2 separate regions of the Homo sapiens genome follow, and region 1 is linked to region 2. The links are contacts of gene promoters, found by promoter capture Hi-C in blood cells and fetal thymus (Javierre and others, 2016). All regions are on one chromosome and are shown on one strand. Each heading gives the region's core, a stretch centred on a gene start or on the middle of the fragment in contact. The rest is flanking DNA. Distances are from core to core; before and after follow the strand shown. Region 1 has its middle 25 kb from the start of ZNF577. Region 2 holds the start of ZNF415 (zinc finger protein 415).

What was found. The method cuts DNA at HindIII sites, captures the fragments that hold promoters and counts their contacts. A CHiCAGO score of 5 or more calls a contact.
Region 1: a fragment that was not itself captured here is called in contact with the fragment with the promoter of ZNF415 in region 2 in 2 of 17 cell types (total CD4 T cells and total CD8 T cells); the score reaches 7.1 in total CD4 T cells.

Annotation. Positions count from the first base shown.
Region 1 is chr19:51,860,939-51,865,195 of GRCh38, reverse strand. It overlaps a transcript of ZNF577 not described here and the pseudogene LOC100419706. Among named protein-coding and RNA genes, the nearest start is that of ZNF577, 25 kb to the left of the region's middle. The HindIII fragment of the contact is 1,634 bases long and covers 940-2,573 here.
Region 2 is chr19:53,130,557-53,134,863 of GRCh38, reverse strand. It overlaps ZNF415 (zinc finger protein 415), which reads left to right and starts at 1,954. Exons shown (of 4, transcript NM_018355.4): 1 at 1,954-2,008. The HindIII fragment of the contact is 7,510 bases long and covers 1-4,307 here.

The DNA.
Region 1 (4,257 bases), core at 507-3,006, 1.3 Mb after region 2:
GAACCCTAGAGGCGAAGGTTGCAGTGAGCTGAGATTGCGCCATTGCACTCCAGCCTGGGTGACAAGAGCGAAACTCCGTCTCAAGAAAAAAAAAATCTTTGGGAAAGTTCATTGACTGTTGCATGCAGAATTAAAGAAGAATGAATCTGAAACAGAGTGACAGCACTTACATTTATGTGAAGAGCTGAGAAGACTTCATTTTATCTTGCTTCCCACAGATGTTGGTTCCTAAGACTTAAGTTGGCCTCTTTTCTGGGTACTTATTGTTTGAGCGTGATGGATGGACTTTTTCCATTCTCTGGGCATCTCCTTCTCCCAAAGCCTTCAGAGTTGGAGGGCGTAAGGGTGCTTCATCATTGGTAATTTCTTTTCTTTGTTCCCAGTGTGACCTCTTCGATTTCATGGACTTAACAATGCTATTTATATGTTGATGACTCACAGATTTCTCTCTACAGGCTAGATATTTCCTTATCCTCCTACATTTGCCTGGGAATTGCTTGGAGATCTAATAGCTAACTCAAACTTCAAGTCATCCTTGCTTCACCGTTTCACTCATCCCACAAATCCAGTCCATTTAGCAAGTTTAGACTTTACTTTCTCCTTATATCTCGAGGTCCTCTACTCCTTTCTCTAACAGTTATTTTCACTCAAGCTTCGATGTCCATTATCTCTTGCCAAAATTATGATAGTTTTCTCTAATATACTCTCAGTCCTTTACTCTTGTTTCTATTCTCCACATAATACCCTTAATGAATTTATTTTACTATTTTCATTTATGAAAATAAATGCGGGAGTCAGGGGCGGGAGTCAGGGGCAGGAGTCAGTGTTTCTAGCCCCTCACCTCCAAAATCCCTGAACATTAAAATAAACATCAGAAACATCTTGGTTCTTAAAAGACTTCAGATTTTGACAAAAGTGTTGCGGAAAGTAATTAAAGCTTCATATAAAAAGGTAAATCTTAGTTGGAGGATGGAAAGATCTAAATTATGGTCTAAAAAATGCTATATGATGTAGCAAATCTGTACTCATTCACAGGGTGCAAGCCTAAAAATATTCATGCCATAATATTTAAGACATGGTCAGTGTTAATTACTGATAAACATACACACAGGATGTTGCTTTTAAATTGGAAATCAGGACATGTCATCCTGCTCCCACTATCATTGGTAATGGCATCCTGTTACTGTTAGCACAAGATCCAAATTCTTTTCAGGATCCTCCTACAAGGGAGCATTCCCTGATTTCGGCCTAAACGTTTTTGTTTACTTATTAATGAAAAATGTTTTGGTATAACATACATATAATGTAATTATACAGCTAGGTAACTTTCTAGTCAGCACACTGTGCAACCAGCACCTAGATCAAGAATCTGAGTCCTGTGCAGAATGGCATTGGGTGAATATTACACTGTTTATCTCTTTTACATTCAGGCCATTATACTTAGTGTCCCTATGTATGTTTTCATCAATATCTTTATTTTTATTTTCTCCTTTTGAAAATGCTTGTCTCCAAATGGTCTAGATTTAATGAGATGTTCCAAAATGATACACAAAATTCTTGCACATTCTTTTTGCAAATTTCCCCAAAATATGATTTTACCAATTTGCTTTATTTTATCTATACACACACACCACACACAGGTACATATGGTTTTTCTGAACTCTACCCTAAAACCCAAGTGTGTATTTCATAGGAAGAAGAGCATTCTTTTGCATAATCAGAATACTGTGATCAAAATCAGAATATTGACATTGATATAGTATTATTATTTAAAATACAGAGCTTACTCAAATTTAACCATCTTACTAATATCTTTTTATGGTAAATGGGAAAAGAAGCCTTTTTCTGGACCTCTTCTTGTTATCTCACTTACTCTGTTGTGCGTACACTAGCTTTCATAACATCCAGAAGTCAGAGCTTGCTAATTATAACCAATTCTTTTTGGAAAGAAATCATATGGATGCAGTGAATGTGCAGTGAATACTTGTAAACTACTCATGACCATGCCTCAGAGAACTCATGCAGGAAACAAATCCCAGGAATCTCATGATTTTAGGAGAGCCCTTCCCAGTGAGTTAAAGCTCATTGCTCATCAGCAAACTCAAACAGGAGTGAGACCCTACTGATGCAATCAATGTCAAAAAGCCTTCATTACAAATTCAGGGCTTGTGTATCATCAGAAAACTCATCATAGAGAAGGGAAAGTCTGTACATGCAGCAAATGTGGAGAAGTTTTCCCTTGGAAGTCAGAACTCATTTTATGTCAAAGAAATCATTCAGGAGAGAGACCGTTCATTTGCAAAGTATGTGATAAAGGCTTTGTGGTTAGGACACATCTCACTGTACATCAGAGAGCTCACACAGGAGAGAAACCATATGCTTGCTCAGATTGTGAAAAAGCCTTCTCAAAAAAGGCTTTATTCATGATTCATCAGTGAATTCACACAGGAGAGATACCCTATTAATGCATTCAATGTCAAACAGCTTTGAAGACCAGATCTGAGCTCAGTTATCCTCAGAAAGTTCTTCATAGAAAAGGAAAATTCTATGGATGCAGTAAATGTGGGAAAGCTTTTCCTTGGAAGTCGAACCTCATTTTGCATCTCAGAACTCATTCAGGAGAGAGACCTTTCAGGTGCAAAGTCTATCATAAAGCCTTCATGGTTAGAACACAGCTAACTATACATCAGAGAACTCACACAGGAGAGAAACCATATGCTTGCTTGGATTATGAGAAAGCCTTCTTGAAAAAGGCTCAGCTTATGAAGCATCAGTGAATTCATACAGAAGAAAGACCCTATGGATGCAGTGAATGTCAAGAAGCTTTCATCTGGAAGTTGGATCTCAACAATCATAAGAAAACTCATCATGCAGTAAGGAAATCCCATGAATGCAGTGAATGTGGGAAGGTTTTATCCTCCAAAAAAAACTTTGTTATACATCAGAGAACCCATACAGGTGAGAAACCCTTCAAATGCAATGTATGTGATAAAGCCTTCACATCAAAGGGAAATCTCATTGTATATCAGAGAACTCATATAGGAAATAAATCATATGAATGCTCAGACTGTGATAGGGCCTTCTCCAGTAAGGTATATCTCATGACTCATCAGCCAATTCACACAGGAGAGAGACCCTATGATGCAATGAAGGTCAACAAGCTTTCACCCAAAAGACAGGTCTCAGTAAGCATCGAAAAACTTGCCATGCAAGAATGAAATCTTATGGATACAGTGGATGTGGGAAGGTTTTGTCCTGTAAGTCAACTCTCATTATATAACAGAGAACCTATACAGGTGAGAAACTCCTCAAATGTAGCATGTGTAATAAAGCCATCATAGTTAAATCCTGTCTCACTGTACATTAGAGAATTCATACAGGAGAGAAACCATATAAATGCAGTGATTGTAAGAAAGCATTCGCTACTTTGTAAACTCTCATTGGTCACCAGAGAACTCACACAGGAAAGAGGCCCTATAGATGCAGTGAATGTCAAAAAGCTTTACTCAGAAATCAGCTATTACTAATCATCAGAAACCCCAGCAGGAAGGAAGAAAGTCCATGCAGTGACTTGGAATATGAGAGAGCTTTTTTGATTAGTCACATCAGCTCAGACACAATAGAAGTTCCATGAATACTATGATTGTAATGGGCCCTTTTGGAACTCTTGTGGGAGAGAAACCTTATAGATGCAATGAATATTTTAAGCCTTCTTTTTTGAAGATATCCCTCGTTTACCGTAGAGATCTCACAAGAAGAATCATTGGCCAGGCGCATTGGCCCATGCCTGTTATCTCAGCACTTTGGGAGGCTGAAGCAGGCAGATCACTTGAGGTTGGGAGTTCGAGACCAGCCTGGCCAACATGATGAAACCCTGTCTCTACTAAAAATACAAAAAAAAAAAAAAACAAATAGCCAGGTGTGGTGTGCACACCTGTAATCCTAACTACTCAGGAGGCTGAGGCAGGAGAATCTCTTGAACCTAGGAGGTGGAGGTTGCAGTAAGCCGAGATTGCACCAGTGTACTCCAGCCTGGGTGACAGAGTGAGACTCTGTCTCAAAAAAAAAAAAAAAAAAAAAAAGAGAGAGTCAATTATGAGTGCAGTGATTGTCAAAAAAGTTTATTAGAAAACTAGAAGCTTTCCATTTAGTAGGCAGCACCAGTGGATGTAATGAAAATGATAAATCATTCTCAAATTATATTTGTTACACATTAGGGTATTCATTCAGGAGAAGGACCCTACAGATGGAGGGAAT
Region 2 (4,307 bases), core at 705-3,204:
CACATAATCCTGTAAGAACGATTATCCAATCTTTCGAAGGAGGCATCCAGTACCTGAGGTGTTAGTTCTAGTGGTGGCCAGGCGCTGTAGCTCACCCCTGTAATCCCAGCACTTTGGGAGGCCAAGGGGGGTGGATCTCCTGAGGTCAGGAATTGGAGACCAGCCTGGCCAACATGGTGAAAACCCATCTCTACTAAAAATACAAAAAATAGCTGGGTGTGGTGGCGCGTGCGTGTGGTTGAAGCTACTCAAGAGGCTGAGGCAGGAGAATCGCTTGAGCCTGGGAGGTAGAGGTTACAGTAAGCTGAGATCACACCACCGCACTCCAGCCTGGGTGACAGAACAAGACTCTGTCTCAAAAAAAAAAAAAAATCACTAATAATGACAAAGTGCATATTTCTTGAGCTGAGAATATTTTTGTATCTGTGTTTCCATTGTTCGTTTCCAAAAACAATTACAGGTTGCTAATACACATCAACTGGACTGTTCAGTAGAAGCTCCTGTGTTTCTCATGATCTCTGACAGCATCCAGGGGTTCACATGGAGAAAGCAGAATATGCTGAGGTCTGAGATTTGATGGATGGTGATGTTGGAAATCTTTTTATGTGCCCATTTATCTCAGTATATCTGCTTCAGTGAAATGTCTCTTCATAGTTCTATCCATTTTCTAATTTGATTATTTTGCTTTTTTTTTAAGTCGTTCTAGGATTCTTTATACATTCCACATACCAGTTTTATGTCAGATATATGGTAGGCAAATATTTTCTATTATTCAGTACTGTATTAGTCCATTTTCACACTGCCTAAACCCTCCTGTGACAACCTGAGACTGGGTAATTTATAAACAAAAGAGGTTTAATTGACTCACAGTTCCGCATGGCTAGGGAGCCCTCAGGAAACTTACAATCATAGAGGAAGGCAAAGGCGAAGCAAGGCACGTCTTGCTTGCAGCAGGAGAGAGAGCGATCAAAGGAGGAACTATCACAGATTTTTAAACCATGAGATCTCCTGAGAGCTCACTATCATGAGAACGGCTTGGGGAAAACCACCCCCATGATCCAGTCACCTCCCACCAGGTCCCTCCCTCAACACCTGAGGTTTATACTTGAAAATGAGATTTGATGGGGACACTGAGCCAAACCATATCAAATACCTTTTCTTTCATCGTCTGAAGGTCTTTCACAGACCAAAAGTTTTTAATTTGGTAAATACCAGTTGATTTTTTTTTTCTTTAATGAATCATGCTTTTGCTGCTATGGCTAAGAATTTTTGAACAAGCTCTTGATTCTTACGATTTTATTGTGAGTAATTTTTTCTTTCAGTCTCCTACAGGATACCATTTTATGGTTTGATATTTTACATTTAGGCTATGGTCAATGTTGAACTAATGTCTGTACGGTTGTGAAGTTTGAGTAGAGATGACTTCTTTCCTGCTGTGGATATTAAGTTAGCCCCTCACCAGTTTTTAAAAATTCTTCATTCAATTCCCTTGGTAACTTTGTCAAAAATCAGTTGGAAGTACCTGTAGAGGCTATTTTTGTACTCTCTTACTGTATTGCATCAATCCATATGTCTTTTATTGCCCCAAAACCACACAGTTTTTATTACCTTTCCTATATTGGTAGTCTTGAAATCCAGTGGAGTGATTCCAGACACTTCATTTTTGTTTTTTGGTAACTTTTATGGATCCAATCACTGCTAGTTTTGGATTCCCCACCGAAATCCCAGTTCCCGGACTGCTAAGCTGCAGGAGACTCCCTAGCAGGATCGGGTCCAACCTGCAGGCAAAATAGTTTTAACATAAACCGTTTTCAACTTGGTAAGTGGAAAACATTTTGGTTTCCACCATAAGTGGCCCACACAACTCTGATTTTTTTACCTTAAAGCGGCGCAGACCCCGCCCACTCCAGCCATTCCTTCAGGCTGCCCGGGCTCTTCTCTCCGCGCATGCGCAGTTTCCTACAGGCCCGGAAACGGATCGCGTTGGGTGAAGGTGACGGCGTCGAGCGTGAGTGACCCTCTGTGTAGATTAAACCTGCGCTCCCTGTTTCCCATTTCCACAGCCGATGTCCAGGGTCGATACGGCCCTTAAAATCCCCGTACACTCCACCCCAGGTGAATACAGGCCTCGCAGTGTGGGTCCGGAGTCGCTTCCCTTTGGGTTGAAGTCGCTTTGAGGCTGCTCCCCGTCCCCGGCCTTTTGCTTCTTCCTCCCGCTTAAAACCTTTTCCTGACCCCCTCCCCCATCCCCGGGCTTTTTAAAGTCTTCACCCAAGAGGTGTATTCCCGTCCTGGGTGCCTCCCAGCCTTGCCCTCGTCGGCCCCTGGAGCGCAGCGCCGCAGCTGCAGCCGCAGTCCCGGGGAGCCTTGCGTCCTCTGCCTGGTCCTGGGATCCTGCAGACCCCACCCCTGTCTGAAGGCGCTGTCGCGCCCCACCTCCCTCCTCCTCGTGCCGGGCCCCGCTGCTCCCCAGGCCTCCCCTGAGCCCGCGCTGGGGAGGTGCTCAGGGCCTGTCCTGTGACACCCGATGTTCTTGCCTGCCCTCCTCCACCCCGTGGAAAATGCGCTCCTCCAGGATGCAGGCGTCTTACCCCAAACCGTCCTGTGAATGTGTGGGCCAAAGGGATCGAGGGACAGAGAGAGCAGTAGAAAACCTGAGACAGGAAGGAATGAGGCAAACCAATAAACAGATGGCAAAGTAGAGGATGGTTAGAGATTTTCAGAGACAGTAAGAGTGGAAGAAGAAGCCGAGAAAGTAGCAGGGAGAGAAAAGTAACTAGACACATTTCGAGAAAAAGCACAGTATCCAGAGAGATGAAGGACAGCCAGGTAGGGAGAGGGGCAGCAAAGGAGGAGGCTCCTCAGACAGAGAGTGGGGGAGAGCAGAAGGGATTTGGAGCCAGGGCAGACAGGGCAGTGTGGTACCGGGACAGCAAGAGGGGGCAGCCGATGACAAGGAGAAGCAGAGGGAGAACCACAGCACGGGGAGGCCTGGGATCTGGGGGTGCCAAAGAGTGGGGACAACGGTGTGTAACAGGGAAGAGGGAATTTAACAGGGAGTGCTGAAATGGGGAAGAAAGAGCCAGAAATATGTGGAGACTGGGACAATGAAAAGATTAGGAAGAAAGAGGAATTAAATACATTGCAAGAATGGAAAGAGCAAGTGGAAGAGAAAGAATAGAGGGAAGACGGGGAGGAGCAGCAGGAGAGGAGAGGGGCTCAAAATGAGCAGAATCCTAGGGAGAAAATAAAGGGGAAGGAAAGAGCTAGAGAAAGAAGGTGAGAATGAGAGCGATGTACGGAACGAGGGAGGGAAACACACCATAATGAGGAAAGAGGGGGACCCCAGGTCCAGGTGAGTTGTGAACTGACTGGATGTGATGACTACCTTTTGACCTGTTGATTTCTGTCTTTATAAGTTTAAAATGCACAGATGATGAGAATTGCAAAGCTCCTGTCTATTAAGGCTGGTGCATTTTATAATTATGGCATCAGAAGTTAGCTTCCACTTGCAATCCCTGTTAAGGCAGAGGGAAGTGACTTGACTCATTAATTCCACAGGTCATCCTCTTCCCCTTCCCTGGCGTTGGGGCAGGGGGAGGGGAAGGGGGAGTGGGAGAGTAAAGCTGGGCAGAAAGTGAAAGACTGTCACTACATAGTGTCTCTCTAAAGCAGGGGTGTCCAATCTTTTGGCTTCCCTGGGCCACATTGGAAGAAGAATTGTCTTGGGCCACACATAAAGTACACTAACACTAACAATAGCTGATGAGCTAAAAAAAAAAAAAAAAAAAAAAAAAAAAGTTGCAAGAAAATCTCAAAATGTTTTAAGGAAGTTTAGGAATTTGTGTTGGGCTGCATTCAAAGCCTTCCTGGGCTGCGGATTGGACAACGTTGCTCAAAAGGAACATTAAAAGTGTTGAGGCTGGGCATGGTGGCTCATGCCTGTAATCCCAGCACTTTGGGAGGCCGAGGTGGGTGAATCACAAGGTCAGTAGTTCAAGACCAGCCTGGCAAAGATGGTGAAACCCCATCTCTACTAAAAATACAAAACTTAGCCAGGTATGGTGACACGCATCTGTAATCCCAGCTACTCAGGAGGCTGAGGCAAAGCATTGTGTAAACCCGGGAGGCGGAGGTTGCAGTGAGCCAAGAGCCGAGATCCGGTGACAGAGCAAGACTGCGTCTGAAAAAAAAACAAAGAACAAACAAAAAAAGTGTTGTTGCTTTTTGTAATTGATTTGCTTTTTTTCTTACTAATTCCCTTTCATCTCATGTATAGTTCATTTTGCAACTTGAGATAGATCTTC